Regions from separate parts of the Homo sapiens genome. Here all the other regions are linked to region 1. Evidence: promoter capture Hi-C in human tissues and cell types (Jung and others, 2019). All regions are on one chromosome and are shown on one strand. Each heading gives the region's core, a stretch centred on a gene start or on the middle of the fragment in contact. The rest is flanking DNA. Distances are from core to core; before and after follow the strand shown. Region 1 holds the start of MED25 (mediator complex subunit 25). Region 2 overlaps PRR12 (proline rich 12). Region 3 overlaps SCAF1 (SR-related CTD associated factor 1).

Region 1 (5,125 bases), core at 1,708-4,207:
TCTGAGGAATGCCAGTTGCCATGTTAGACAGTCAACCAGCCCTGTGGAGAGGTCTTGTGGCCAACAGCCACAGACTCGCCACCTTGGGAACGGATTCCCCACCACCAGTCAAACCCCTGGATGGCTGCAATCCTGCCGACCTCCTGACTATTGCCTTGTGAGACCCTCAGCCCAACCATCCAGCCAAGCCACTCTTGTGTCCTTGACTCACAGAAACTGCGTTAGATAATAAATGTTTGCAGTATGCAGCCATTATTTGGTGGTAATCTATTATACAGCTAAGAATAAGTAATACAATGAAATACTAATACAAGTACTATCCACATCCCCACTTCACAAGTGAGATACTAGGCACAGAGGGGACAGACTCCTGGGTCTGAGAGTTAGTTCTGTGCTGGAAGAGCCAGGATTTAACCCGTCTGCCTGACTCCAGACTCTACAATGTCAACTATCAAAATCCGATCCAGCGCCAGGCGTGGTGGTGAGGCAGGAAATTAAAGAAAAAAAATTAAAAAGAGAAATAAGTTCTATGTATTAGGCTGACTTGTCTGAGAGGCAGCAATGGGCACAGCCCAGACCCAGGAAAAGTCTTGATAATACTATCTAAAGTGCTCTTGGAGACTCTCCCAGCACTCCCTCAACATAGAGAGAAGAAAAAACAAATTTTCCTTTGTTTTATGGAATGAGTTTATAGATTCCTGTTCTCTGTAACTCATGACTTCAAGTATTCTGTTTTATCTAAGAAGTACAGCGAAGGTCATGAGAAGCCTGAGCTGCCTGGGCACCACAGTGAAGGTTATGGGATAAGCCCGTGCCTAGGCTAACCTAGATAAGGGACATCTGGGTTGCATAGCAACGGTTATGTGCAATCCTGAGTTATAAACCTGTTACAACAATTTGATTAACTGTTTTTGTTCTGCCTCTGTATCCCTGCTGTCACGCCACTGTAAGCTTGCTTCAAGCTAGCCCACCCCCTTTTGTGAAGTGTGTATAAAAGTCAAGTGCTACCTTTGTTCTGGGCCGTCTTTGGACGTGAGTCGGCTTGGGCCTGAGTGCACTCAATGAAAGATTCTCCTGCTTTAACCCGAGGGCTCTCTCCTGTCGTCCTGAATCCCGCAACAGTGGCTCACCCCTATAATCCCAGCACTTTGGGAGGCTGAGGCAGGCAGATCACATGAGGTCAGGAGTTTGAGACCAGCCTGGCCAACACAGTGAAACTGTCTCTACTAAAAATACAAAAAAAAAAAAAAAAATTAGCTGGGCATAGTGGCGTGTGCCTGTAATCCCAGCTACTTGGGAGGCTGAGGCAGAAGAATCGCTTCAACCCAGGAGGTACAGGTTGCAGTGAGCCACGACTGTGCCACTGCACTACAAGCCTGGGAGACAGAGCAAGACACTGTTTCAAAAAAAAAAAAAAAAATTCTGACCCAAGCCACAGAGGGATCTATCCTGGCTCTGACCCATCCCCCTGCACTGAGGCTACAATGTACCCATCTGGAAAAGGAGGACAGGGGTAGACGGAAAAAGAGAGGACAGAAAGGGGACAATCACACAGGGAGTACAAGGTGGCTGCTGGAGCTCAGCCAGGCCTCCCTGAATGGGAAGGTTTTTCCTACTTCTAAACTGATGGCAACATTGCTGAGCACACAGAAGCCACCACAAAAGTGACTTCTGACAAAAACACAATCACCCTCAAAGTCCTTTCAATCCCTTAATGTATGAGATGTTTCCTGCAGCTCAAACCCAAGCCATCGCTCATTCACGGCCCCTCGCAGGGACCCCAACCACCCCAAGCCATTACTTATTCACAGCCCCTCACGGGGACACCAACCACCCCAAGCCATCACTTATTCACAGCCTCTCACGGGGACACCAACCACCCCAAGCCATCACTCATTCACGGCCCCTCACAGGGACCAGCAACCCACCCCAAGTGGGGGAAAGCTCACTTAATGCCATCGAGCCAGGTGACAAACTCATAGGCGCTGCTGGTGGGAGCGTGACATTGTACGTAGGACTCGGGAGCGCAGTCCACTGTGTTGAACACCACGAGGCTGTACTGGGTCCCCCCATACTGGGAGGGGAGGACAGAAAACTTTTAATCTGGGACCTCAATTCCCTTTTCCCTTAGAGAAGGAATCAGGGCTCCCAGCTTCCCGTTCCTCCAGAACCAGGAACTCCTCAGCTTCCTCCTTCCTCAGACCCAGCAATCTCGGCCCCAGCCCCTTCTCCCTCAGACCCAGGAATCCAGGCCCCCGGCCCCTCCTCCCTCAGACCCAGGAGCCCAGGCCCCAGCACCTCCTCCCTCAGACCCAGGAATCCAGGCCTCAGCTCCTCCTTTCTCAGACCCAGCAGTCCAGACGCCCAGCCCTTCCTCCCTCAGACCCAGGGATCTGGGCCCCTAGCTCCCTCCTCCCTCGGACCCAGGAATCCGGGCCCCAGCGCCTCCACCCTCAGACCCAGGAGTCCAGGCCCCCAGGCCCTCCTCCCTCAGAACAAGGAGTCCAGACCCCCAGCCCCTCCTCCCTCAAACTCAGGAGTCCAGGCCCAGCCCTTTCTCCCTCCCTCAGACCCAGGAGTCCAGGCCCCCGGCCCCTCCTCCCTCAGGCCCAGGAGTCCCTAGACTCACGTCTCCCCCGAAGTCCGTCTCAGCAGGAGGACCACCATTAAAATACCTGTGAGGGTAGGAAGTGAAAGGTCGGAGTCAGGCAAGAAACTGTGCGAAACTGAAGTGGGAGGGCGGGGTTAGAGTCGCGGAAACAGCACTCACTCGATGGCCGGGAGCAGGTAGTGCTTGCGGAGCCCCTCGAAGTAGGGTCCCAGGTTGGCCGTACCCTCAATCACAAACACCACGTCGGCCACCACGCTCCCGGCGCGGGCCGGGCCCTCGGACCCGGGGACCATACCCCGTGCGGTACCCGCCACCACCACTGCAGCCGCAGCCGACGCCGCGGAATGAGCAGAAATGCGCCTGCGCCGCGCGCGCGCTCGCGTCGGGCGGTTTAGGGCTGCTGGGAATGCTGCCATGTTTGTGCGGGGCACGCGCTGAGGCTTCGTTCTAGCTCCATCCTCCTTCGCCCCCACCGCGTGGAAGACTCAGAAAGGGCATAGTTAGCCCTTCTAGGGGCCTGATGGGTTAGACGGAATTATTGTCAAAAGCTAAATAAATTGAAAGCGGCTCAGTCAGCCGCCATCTTTGAGCGGGGCGTCCAGGTCCGCCTCTTGTCTCAAAGGGAGGGGCAGGAGACCTGGTTGCTATGCAACGCGTACGCTGCCCTTGTTTTCGTTTTTGTGTTTTGTTTTTTGTTTGTTTGTTTTTTCGAAACGGGAGTCTCGCCCTGTCGCCCAGGCTGGAGTGCAGTGGCGCGATCTCGGCTCACTACAACCTCCGCTTCCCGGGTTCAAGCGATTCTCCTGCCTCAGCCTCCCGAGTAGCTGGGATTACAGGTGCCCGCAACCACGCCCCGCTAATTTTTGTATTTTTAGTAGAGAAAGAGTTTCACCCTGTGGGCCAGGCTGTTCTCGAACTCCTGACCTCAAGTGATTCGCCCGCCTTGGCTTCCCAAAGTGCTGAGATTACAGGCGTGAGCCACCGCGCCGGGCCCGCTGCCCTTGTTTTGTAACCGTTAGATTAAGTTTCTGGTTCTGTTCTTTCGGGCGTGGGGACTAGGGGAGGGACGCGAGAAGGATCCAATCACATCGGCGGAAACGAGGTTACTAGGCGACGCTTTAAGGTCGTCCTCAACTTGGAAGGGAGGGCAGTTGTTTTCCCCCCCGAAAAGAAGCCGAACACCAAACCAAGTGCGGGTTGCTAAGCAACACCTGAGCGTTGTTTTCTGGGAGAGGAGCCAGAAACTGGCTTAGAACGTAAATACATTCCAGGTGGATTAAAAATGTAAGTGCAACAAATGAAACCCGAAAACTATCTGAAGGGAAAAAATCTTAATGACTGCCATGGAGTTTCTTAGCACTACAGCAAAGTTAGAAAACGTAGTCTTCATTAATTTTTCCCAAAAGACTGTATAAACCAAGTTGAAAAATATACGGCCAACTGGGAAAATCTTTCTAGCGTGTTTGTTGACAGAAATGTACTACGCAAATAAATCTTACTGATGAATAACAATATAGAAAAATAGAAACACTTCATTACTATTATCTTTTAATTTTAATTTTTATTTTTTGAGGCAGGGTCTCTTTCTGTTGTGCAGGTTGAAGTGCAGTGGCCCAATCTTGGCTCACGGCAGCCTCTACTCGCACTGGAGCCACTCTTCAGCCTGTGGAGCAGCTGGGACCACAGCCGCGCACTACCACTTCCAGCTAATTTTTAAATTTTTTGTAGAGATGGGGTCTCACTGTGTTGCTCTGGCGTGTCTCAAACTCCTCGGCTAAAGCGATCCCAGGTGTTAGCCATCGTGCCCTGCCACTTTATATTTGTTTTAATAGAAAGAAACCTGACCAGGGCCGGACGCCGTGGCTCACGCTTGTAATCCCAGCACTTTGGGAGGCCAAGGCGGGCAGATCACCCGAGGTAAGGGGTTCAAGACCAGCCTGGCCAACATGGTGAAACTCCTTCTAACTACTAAAAATAAAAAAATTAGCCGTCCTGGTGGGCGTCTGTAATCCCAGCTACTTGGGAGGCTGAGTCAGGAGATTCTCCTGAACCCGGGAGGCGGAGGTTGCAGTCAACTGAGATTGTGCCACTGCATTCCAGCCTGGGCGGCAGAGTTAGACTCCGTCTCAAAAAAAATAAAAATAAATAAATAAAAAGAAACCTGACTAGTTTCACACAAACACACACACAAAATTTTGAATGGCCAGTAAATATTTTAAAACATAATCTTCGGCCGGGCGAGATGGCTCATGCCTGTAATTCCAGCACTTTGGGAGGTAGAGGCGGGCGCATCACGAGGTCAGTATCACTGGGCGTCGTGGTGCCCACCTGTAATCCCAGCAACTCGAGAGGCTGAGGCAAGGAGAATCGCTTGAACCCGGGAGGCAGAGGTTGCAGTGAGCCGAGATCACGCCACTGCACTCCAGCCTGGGCGACAGAGCGAGACTGTCTCAAAAAAAAAACAAAAAAAACAAAAAAAACAGGCCGGGCGCAGTGGCTCATGCTTGCAATCCC
Region 2 (5,125 bases), core at 1,006-3,505, 190 kb after region 1:
TGCTGATGTTCCACCCTCAAATCTCACACTGGGTCCCTACCCACGGACTAAGCCAGGGTTCTGGAACACCAGTGGTCCATCCATCCAGGCTCTAGAATGACAACAGCCTGTTCACTGCTTCATAGACTGGGTTCTAAAATATTGCCAGTTGACCTCCACATTTTTTATTTTTTGAGATGGAGTCTCGCTCTGTCAGCCAGGCTGGAGTGGTGCAATGGCACGATCTCAACTCACTGCAACCTCCGCCCCCTGGATTCAAGCGATTCTCCTGCCTCAGCCTCAGCCTCCCATGTAGCTGGGATTATAGACGCACGCCACCACGCCTGGCTGATTTTTGTATTTTTAGTAGAGACGGGGTTTCACCATGTTGGTCAGGCCGGTCTCGAACTCCTGACCTCAAGTGATCCCCCCGCCCCGGCCTCCCACAGTGCTGGGATTATAGCCGTGAGCCACCGTGCCCAGCCAACCTGCACATTTTTAACATTCTTGTTCTAGAACACGGTTCTTCAAACTTGAATGTGCTTGAGAATCCTCTCGGCATTTTACTAAAAAGTGGGTTCTGATCAAGTAGACCAGAGCAACAGCCTGAGATTCTACATCTTTTCCTTTAAGGGTGGGAGGAGGAGAAACAGCCCTATTCAACCTGCCCTCTCCTCGTCTGCTGCCTGTGCCGATTCTACATTTATACAAGTGCTTGGGGAACTCCAAGAGTGCTGTACCATGGACCACTCACTTGGATTCAAGAATACAGGACTTGAGGCCGGGCGCAGTGGCTCACACCTGTAATCTCTTTGGAAGGCTGAGGCTGGCGGATCACTTGAGGTCAGGAGTTCGAGACCAGCCTGGCCGACATGGTGAAACCTGGTTTCTACTAAAAATACAAAAATTTGCTGGATGTAGTGGTAGGCCCCTGTAATCCCAGCTACTTGGGAGGCTGAGGCAGGAGAATCGCTTGAACCGGGGAGGCTGAGGTTGCATGAGCCAAGATCGAACCACTGCACTCCAGGCTGGGTGACAGAGCGAGACTCTGTCTCAAAAAAAAAAACCAAAACAAAACACTACAGGATTTGAACTGGGTGTAGTGGCATGCACCCGTAATGCCAACTACTTGAGACTGGGGCAGGAGGATCTTTTAAGCCCAGAAGTTCAAGGCCAGCCTGGGTAACATAAAGAACACAGGGCCAGGCACAGTGGCACTTGCCTGTAATCCCGTCACTTTGGGAGGCTGAGGCAGGAGGATCGCTTGAGCCAGGGAGTTGGAGGCTGCAGTGAGCTATGATCATGCCACTGCACTCCAGCCTAGGTGACAGAGCGAGACCCTGTCTTTAGCTAAAAAACAAAAGAAACCCCCCAGTGATAAATATTTGTTGTCTGAAGTCATTAAATTTCAGGGTGGGATACTCTGCTGTGCGGGGACACAGAACATATGCCAGCCTCAGGCCCCCCACTGCCCAGGGCTCTGGGAAAGTCCCGTTCCAGAACCTCTGCCCCTGCTACCACTGCCACCCACTCCAGCGCCGCAGGACAGAGGCACTCCAGCCTGCCGGTAAAGTGTTTGCCGTTGGGTTTTCGTTTGGCTGGTTGTGTGTACACAGTGTATACAAGTTGAGTTGTACAGAAGCCCAAGAAAGAGCAAGAGACAAAGGGTAGTGGGAGCAGGGGGTGGGGCGGGGGCGAGAACGGGGAGGAGGGGAAAGGAGACCGATAAAAAATAGAACCACATCCAGACAACAATGGGGGATGGGCAGTGGGTGGGGGCCAGACACAGACAAATCGCCGTAGAAAAGGAGTGGGAGGGGCAGAGAGAGGGGACCCTTCTCCCCCCTCCACCTCCCCAAGCCCCTGCCCCAGGTATGTACAATAAATAAGATTAAAAATAATTAACAAGATGCGTTTTCCCCTCCCACCCGACGCCAAATGCCCTGCGGAGGGAATGGCCTTTAGCAAAGATCTTGGCCTGCAGGGGGGACTTGGGGGGAAGGGGTCCCCCAGCTCTCTGAAGCCACCCCACCCCCCCCAGCCATACATAGACTTTTCCTATACATTATGTACAAGGTGGAGGGGGCGGGGGCTGTGGCTGTGGAGGGGGGGTCGGGGCAAGGGGAGAGGGAAACCGTTACTAAATAGACATTTATACATATATATAAATAATTTCTCTGTACACCGAACAGTGGGAGGAATGGGGAGGGAGTGGAGGGGGCTTGGGAGAGGGGGGGAGTCGGACTTTGAACCCTGCCCTGGAGGGGGCAGCACAGACACACCCTGACCCATGACCCCCTTTCCCCGGCGATGGAGCCCAGGTGTTAGCTCCTGAGGACACGGTTCTGTCCCAATTCTCGGTTCATGGAGGAGGCGCCCCCCTCACAAGCTGGGGCGGGGTCACCCGCAGCGGCTGTGGGCCTGTGCTTGGGCCAGCAGGTCACTGAAGGAGTCAAAGAGCTGTTCCAGCCACGGCTGGTTCCGCATGCACTGCTGGACCACCTCCTCCTGGCCCAGGTCCTCGGCGCCGCCCTCGATGGCCAGGGTCTGCAGGGGTCAAACATGGCACTGGGGAGGGTGGCACACCGGCCTCTGGGGAGGGAAGGGGCTGGGGCATGGGGCCTGGGGTGTCAGATGTCAGTGTCCCAGGGAGACCAGGGCTGGGGGCTGCATTCTTAAGTCCAAGACAGAAGGACCTGAACTCTTGGGTCTGAGGCAGGATGGGGCTGGGCTTGGACCCTCAGATCCCAAGAGGAAGTCAGAAAGGTTGGAATCCCAGGGCGATGGGTGCTGTGGGTGGGGCTCACCTGGTCCCGGCAGCGCAGGAAGGTGTGGTATTTATAGTGGTGGAGCGAATGGTAGAGTGTATAGTATCCCGACTTTTCCAGCTCAACCTTGAACTCCTGGGTAGGAGTGGAGATGCCTCAGCCCCTCCAGCCCGGCACTTGGCAGCCCCTCTCCTCCCTTCCCACATACCGCCAGCACTCCCCACTCCCAGCCCCAGCCCCAGTGCCCACCTGGGCTCTGACCACGCTCCTCTTGAGCTTGCTGAGCGTCTTGCGGTTGTAGGGTTCCCCAGCAGGCCGCAGCCGCACAGCCCCCTCTTCCGGAGAGCCCTCCCCACTCTGCTCCACTTGCAGCTGTGGGAACGTGTGCAGAGCATCCTGCGGGAAGCCAATGGGTCAGCTGGATGCTGCCCTGGATCCATAAACCCCAAACCCAACAGCCAGGTCTCAGATCTGTGCCTCAGTTTCCCCCAGGCTGCAGATCAGGAGAGACAACTAGAGTCTCCTCAAAGGACAGAGGAGGCTGGGCCTGACCAGTGATGCTTCCACTGTGCCTTCTGGCCTGGCTCAGATTCTCAATGTCACCCAAAATTCTACCCCAGAATTCCCAGCCCCATCCTAACCATCTACCCCAGAATTCCCAGCCCCATCCTAACCATCTATCCCAGAATTCCCAGCCCCATCCTAACCATCTATCCCAGAATTCTCAGCCCCATCCTAACCACCTACCCCAGAATTCCCAGCCCCATCCTAACCACCTACCCCAAAATTTTCAGCACCATCCTAACCACCTACCCCAGAATTCTCAGCCCCATCCTAACTATCTATCCCAGAATTCTCAGCCCCATCCTAACCACCTATCCCAGAATTCTCAGCACCATCCTAACCACCTACCCCAGAATTCTCAGCACCATCCTAACCACCTACCCCAGAATTCTCAGCCCCATCCTAACCACCTATCCCTGAATGCTCGGCCCCATCCTAACCACCTACCCCAGAATTCTCAGTCTCATCCTAACCACCTATCCTATCCCAGAATTCTCAGCCCCATCGTAACCACCTACCCCAGAATTCTCGGTCCCATCCTAACCACCTACCCCAGAATTCTCGGTCCCATCCTAACCACCTACCCCAGAATTCTTGGCCCCATCCTAACCACCTACCTCAGAATTCTCAGTCCCATCCTAACCACCTACCCCAGAATTCTCGGTCTCATCCTAACCACCCACCCCAGAATTCCTGGCCCCATCCTAACCACCCACCCCAGAATTCCCAGCCCCATCCTAACCACCTACCCCAGAATTCCCAGCCCCATCCTAACCAGCTATCCCAGAATTCCCAGCCCCATCCTAACCACCTACCCCAGAATTCCCAGCCCCATCCTAACCAGCTATCCCAGAATTCCCAGCCCCATCCTAACCATCTACCCCAGAATTCTCGGCCCCATCCTAACCACCTACCCCAGAATTCTCGGCCCCATCCTAACCATCTATCCCAGAATTATTGGCCCCATCCTAACCATCTATCCCAGAATTCTCAGCCCTATCCTAACCATCCCATCTACCCCAGAATTCTTTTTTTTTTTTTTTTAAGACAAAGTCTCGCTCTGTCGCCCAGGCTGGAGTGCAGTGGCGCGACCTTGGCTCACTGCAAGCTCCGCCTCCCGGGTTCACACCATTATTCTGCCTCAGCCTCGCGAGTAGCTGGGACTACAGGCACCCACCACCACACCCGGCTAATTTTTTGTGTATTTTTAGTAGAGACGGGGTTTCACCATGTTAGCCAGGATGGGTTGTTATTGGTCTCCTGACCTCGTGATCCACCTCCCTTAGCCTCCTAGAGTGCTGGGATTACCAACATGAGCCTCCGCGCCCAGCCATCTATCCCAGAATTCTAACTCCCGACTAATAACACATACTTCTCAGACCTACTCTAATATCCTACACTGGGATTATCTACCCTAGTGTAACATCTCACCCACAATCCTCAGTGCCAGCCTAACAATCCATCTCAGAATTTGTAGACTAGATTCATATCCTCCAGAGTTTTTATAACCTAATGCTACCCAGAATTTTCCAACCCACCCAGCACTCTACCCACGAATTTTCAGAGTCAGCATAACATTCCAGCTTAGATTTCTCCACACCAGTCTAAGAATCCATTCCAGAATTCTCGGTCATCCCAACGTCCCACCCATCATTCTGAGAAAACTACTATCTCACTCAAAATTCTCAGTCATATTAATATCTCTCTCTCTCTCTCTTTCTCTCTCTCTCTCTCTCTCTCTCTCTCTATATATATATATATATATATGTTTTTGTTTTTTTTTTGAGACAGAGTCTCGCTCTGTCGCCCAGGCT
Region 3 (5,125 bases), core at 1,844-4,343, 170 kb after region 1:
GAGTCCAGGGCTCAGCAGCATGTATTGTTTAAAATGAAAATTCCCAGGTCCCACCCCAGACCTGCAGAATCAGAACTCTTGGGAGTGGGCCCAGTGATGTGCATAGTAACAAGTCCTCCTTGCAACTGAGATGTGCGTTCGCGTTTGGTCTAAAGGGCTCACAGGGTTACCGTTGTGTGTGGGGTTGGAGGAAGAGATTCCTCCTTGGGCAGCGCACATCTCAGACATCAAAAACTTGGGCTTCAGACTCAGACACACCAGGGCTCAAGGCCCAGGCACCCCACGGAGCATCTGGCTGTGCGCCCTTGGGCAAGTGCCTGCCCTTTTTCAGGCTGTCTGCTTCTCTGAAGATAGAGATTCGAAGAGTCCCCCTCCTGGGGAGATGAACGCCCAGTGCAGTGACACTAATACTTAGCGTGCCGAAACCAGTTGTCACACACGCTGACCACTCCCACATAGCCCCAGCACATCAGTTTTTACTTTATGTACATCTGTATGCGCCTACAGCCTTAATCACGTCTAATACGAAGAGAAGGGAAAGGTTTTGTCTAAATAACATGATCACCGCTACCATCACTACCAAAAACAGCCGATCCCCACACAACTCCACGACCACCTGCCCAGCTCCGCCCTGGCCCCACATACCCGTTTTGCCCGTCCTCCAGGCCCTGAGACGGGGCAGCAGGCTGGGCACAGGCAGAGGGATGGGATCTCTGTCCCCGATTCGGACCTCAGCCACCAGCTCCAGCATGTCCTCACTTCTGCAAGGCGGAAGGGGTGGGTGAGCCTCAGGGGTGCTTCTGGCTCTCACGCTGAGGCCTCTCCCACTCCAGCTGCCCAGCTACTCACTCGCCAGGCCGCAGGTCCAGGCGGCTGGGAACCCAGGTATCCGGGGGATCCAGGACACTCACCAGCCCTGCGAGGAAGCTGTCCGTGGCCATGTCCAACACCTGGAAGAGGCCAGAGAGGCTCTACGCCGTCCCTGGTCACATGAAGACTGGCAAATCCTGCTTCCCCACTCCCTAACCTCTCAGGAACCCAGACATCTAAGATCCCCAAGAAAACTGAGGATCTAATTCCTATAGCCTGACTGCCATCAACACTCAAAGCTCAGGCCCACAGATCAGGCCCCCAGACTCTCCAACATTGCCCCTGGTCAGCATCGCAGAGCCAGGAGTCCAGGTCCCCAAACCCCATTCCCCCAGACTCAGGCCCCCATCCCTTCCTCCCTGATACCCGTGAGCCAGGCCCCCAGCCCCCTCTTCTTACTCACAGTAGCCGTGTCAGTGCCCCCTGATTCCTGGGAACGGGGCTCTGACCGTGGACTCCGGCAGCGCCGCCATCGAAGGCCATGACACCGAGAGCCATCTGGTGAGAGATTTGCATGGGGGATTGGACACAGGGGACTTGCTGCAGAGACTTGCGGGGTAGAGGAAAGAGGAGCTTGATCTAGTTCCTGACAGCGGAACCAGCCTCCCGCATGCTCTCCAGGCCTCCATGCGCCACCTCCCAGGAGGACTTCCCAGCACCCACTTCAGAGGCTGCGACGCTCAGCCATTCGTCCTCCTGTCTGCCCTCAGACACCTCAACCTGGCATTCAGGCCTTGCTGGGATCCAGTCCCCACAGACCTCTCCTGCCTCCCCCAACCCCACTCACACCCTCCTGCATGCCAGCCCCAAGGAAGCCCAGCGCAGCCCCTCGCCGCTGCACCCGTGCTGTAGGCCTGCTGCAGCTGATCAGGCTTCCCTCTAATCCTAGGTCCTTAGACTCTTCTAGGTCCTTAGAGAGCCGTTCACTGTCCCTGCTCGGGGAAGGTGCCCTGACCCGTCTCCCACCATGCTAGCTCAAGTGGGCCTCCTGCCCTCTCCCAGCACTGTGCCTGTCTCCCTTCCACTGCACACTAGGCCCTTCCAAGGCAGCTACAGGGTGTCTGCCCATTTTTGGCTCCCCATGCCAGCACAAGGGTGGCACCCAGGAGGCTTCAGAAAAGCTTGTATGAATGACATTAGGATAAAGAATGCAGAGAGGGGGCAGGGGCTAAAAGGAACCGGAAGCCGCCATACCTTTATCATTGGGCAGGTCCCCCTGCAGGGAGCTTCCCACAGCCTGCTGGATGGCTCGCTGGGGAAGGGGGGAAGAACCAAGCGTCAGAGGACCCAGGCAGATGCTTTGCAACCTCTGCCCCTTGGGAGACAGACATCCCAGACACTGACAGCTAGACTCAAGTGCTTCAAGGGAGCCAAGAGTCCAGCGCCCCTGCCTCAGGCCCTGGAGTCAGGCCCCTGGAGTGTGGATGCCCAGCTCCTCCATCCCTCAGTGCCAGGAGCCCAGCAGCCTCACCAGGATAAAGGCAGAAGGAGAAAGCGTGGGGTCTCTGTCTGGCGGACCATCGCCCCGATCCTCCCCCGACTCCTCTGTCTTCCCTCGAGACTCATCTTCTTCCTCCATGGTCACCTGGGGGTCCAGGGGGGAGAGTTTGGAGTGGAGGTCCCGGGAGAAAGGATGGAAGTAGAGGATAGACATGAAGACCTCAAGGGCCCCACACTATCTCCCTCAGCATCCCCTCTGGCACCCCTCCTCTCCTCCACCTCCTCCCACTCCACCCTGTGCTTGGGTGGGCGCTGGACCCAGCACAGACACCCCAGGGACTAGGAGCAATTCTCTTCCTTTTTTCTGGGTCTCAGGTGCCTCTTATGTCAAAGGGAGGCCTCCCTGGCCTCCGCTTTTAACATCTCACTCCTCAATTCCCGCAGCTTCCCCAACAACCTATCCAAACTTCAAGACCTCATTCCCTGGCCTCCTAAGAGGCAAAGCCAACACCAAGGTTTTTTGTGTGTGCTGCACTGTGATTTCAAAGGGTGTGTTCCACAGTCCTATAAACCCACCTTTCCCAAGGCCAATGTGCTGGGCAATATTCAACACCATGCCTTAAACACCACACGGCTTCCTAGAGCATCAACTGTCCTCGATGGTGAGGACCACCCCCAAATTGTATTTATACACCTAAGTTGGAAACTTCATTGAGTGATCTGCAAAACCAGTATGCCATTTTTAAAATGAAAACGCTAAACTTCAGAAAGACATGCCGAAGGAAAACTTCACAGGAGGCATTTACCTATCGCCATCTGCACAAAGCCTTTGCAATGTCATGGAAATTCTTTGATATGATTCCCCAGTCAGGCAGTTGAAAGATCATCCATCAAACAGGTGGATGTCTTGATTAGGGCTTCAGAAAAATATGAATATTTCAGCTGTAAGCTTCCCCATGACTGTCAAATCTGCTACTCATAAGACAATATCCAATCTCAAAATTCCTAGAAAGCTTCAAAATCCCTAACCCACAACTCAGTATGCTTAATTGTAAATGCACGAAATAGGAGCATCTATCTCAGAGAATGGCTGTGAATACTCAAAGCCTGACTTCTGCCACACATTTAGAGCACCTCAAGTGCTCAATACGGATGAAGAGGAATGACACTATTAGCCCTTAACGCCCAGGTTTCCCCTACATCTGTCTCCTCGCTTCCCCCACAGCATGCCTGCAAAGACAAGGCCCTGGTCCTGTTCTAGATCCCATATAGATTTTCAAACCATGCCAAGCCTCCATATTCAGCCTCCCAGCTCCACCTAATTCCTAACTTCCTAAGACACACCCAACCCTGATAGTCTATTACATCCCAGCCTCTTTCACCAATACTCAATAAGCTCAGCCCCAGTTCCTGGCCCTGGAACTGCTCTCCAGCACCTCCCGGGGAAGCACATGCTACCTACAACAGTGACTGTCACATATCAGAAGCTTAATCAACATCTGCTGACTACAGGCTGAGGGATCCCCAAACCCTCTGCAGTATACAAAGATGCTTGCTTGCTCATTTAGAAAGCACCAGGCTTCGCAGACACACCCTCAGCTACTGAGATCTTCTGAACAGAAGAATGCTCTGCAGATACTGCTAGGTCCTATCTGGATCAGTGGTTTCCCCAACAACAGGGTCATATACCAGTTTAGTGCTTCACAAATAGCTTGTTTTAAAAAGTAAATAGAACAAAATAGTTCTTCACAGCACAGCACAAGTAGTAAGTGGAAATGTCAATTCGTGGAAGGTGAGTTAATGTTAATACATTATGTTATATAATGTTAAATACATTATGACTGTCTGTACCAGGTCTCAATGAAAAAATGTATCTTAATGCAGATCACGGTCAACATGGCCCAGGTTTCCCCTTGAAAAGCACTGTAATAGTGGGTCTAGATGACCCTCCAGACTCTTCCAGACTAATGTAGATTAATTCTAACTCTCTCAATAACCCCCAGGGTAATGCAGAATCTTAAAACATTTTTCATTTGAATTACTGTCTGAAGGGCAAGTATATCTAAGCTGGGCAAAATTTCCTCATTCTCTTTCCGTATTATTATTCGCCACAAGCTGCTCTGACCCCAAAGGCATTCGAATTTGCTCCAGGCATCAAAACTGCATTCCTGCAGTCACATTAAAGCCATCTAGATGGTTCCAGGTCCTTCTAACTGCCCCCAGCCTCCTGTCACCCATTATTAGACACTACCCATACCTTGGAGACCCCAGACCCTCAGTACATCTCAATATTTGGCGCCCTTCCCTGGTGGGCATAACCCAACCCCCTAGGGGGCCCTAAATGACTTCTTAGCCCTTGAACACTCCTTCTAGGCCTGATAAATGGCCCCAGACTTATGCAGACCAGTTGCATCCTCAGGCCAGCCCATGCAGACACTTTCCAGCCCTAAAAGACATACCCCAGGCCTCTAGATGGCTCTGAAGATACTCTTCAGGTCTTGCAGACCCTCCTTCACCCCTGGGACATATCTCAAGATCTCAAGATGGCCCCAGAACCCTCTAACCAGACCCTAGCCTCCGGTCAGCCCAAAAAGACAATCTACAGTGTCTACAGACACGATCCAGGCCAGCTGTGTGATGGAGGGCAGGCCTTAGGCTCGGTCTAGGCCCAGAGACGCCCCAAGTCCTCTCGGAGACGCCCCATAGACGCCCCCAGGAACCCACGGATGCGTCCCGGGGCCCTGAGAAGGCCCCCCTCTCGGCGCCAGGTTTCGCCGCAGCTGCCGGGCCCGAGACCGCCCCGAGAAGCCCTCTA

What was found. The method cuts DNA at HindIII sites, captures the fragments that hold promoters and counts their contacts. A contact is called where the count stands out against the background at its distance.
Region 2: a fragment that was not itself captured here is called in contact with the fragment with the promoter of MED25 in region 1 in 1 of the 25 tissues and cell types used here (pancreas).
Region 3: a contact is called between a fragment that was not itself captured here and the fragment with the promoter of MED25 in region 1, in 1 of the 25 tissues and cell types used here (adrenal gland).

The regions. Positions count from the first base shown.
Region 1 is chr19:49,816,121-49,821,245 of GRCh38, reverse strand. It overlaps MED25 (mediator complex subunit 25), which reads right to left and starts at 2,957. Exons shown (of 18, transcript NM_030973.4): 1 at 2,771-2,957; 2 at 2,630-2,675; 3 at 1,950-2,074. The coding sequence starts at 2,904. RefSeq lists silencers at 2,749-2,908, 2,835-3,001 and an enhancer at 3,039-3,398. The HindIII fragment of the contact is 7,641 bases long and covers 1-5,125 here.
Region 2 is chr19:49,622,862-49,627,986 of GRCh38, reverse strand. It overlaps PRR12 (proline rich 12), which reads right to left. Exons shown (of 14, transcript NM_020719.3): 12 at 2,997-3,143; 13 at 2,787-2,882; 14 at 1,548-2,526. The coding sequence ends at 2,380. Among named protein-coding and RNA genes, the nearest start is that of RRAS, 15 kb to the left of the region's middle. The HindIII fragment of the contact is 9,568 bases long and covers 1-5,125 here.
Region 3 is chr19:49,642,351-49,647,475 of GRCh38, reverse strand. SCAF1 (SR-related CTD associated factor 1) reads right to left here. Exons shown (of 11, transcript NM_021228.3): 2 at 2,342-2,455; 3 at 2,065-2,122; 4 at 1,274-1,368; 5 at 850-950; 6 at 646-761. The coding sequence starts at 2,449. Among named protein-coding and RNA genes, the nearest start is that of SCAF1, 2.7 kb to the right of the region's middle. RefSeq lists a silencer at 5,057-5,125. The HindIII fragment of the contact is 935 bases long and covers 2,626-3,560 here.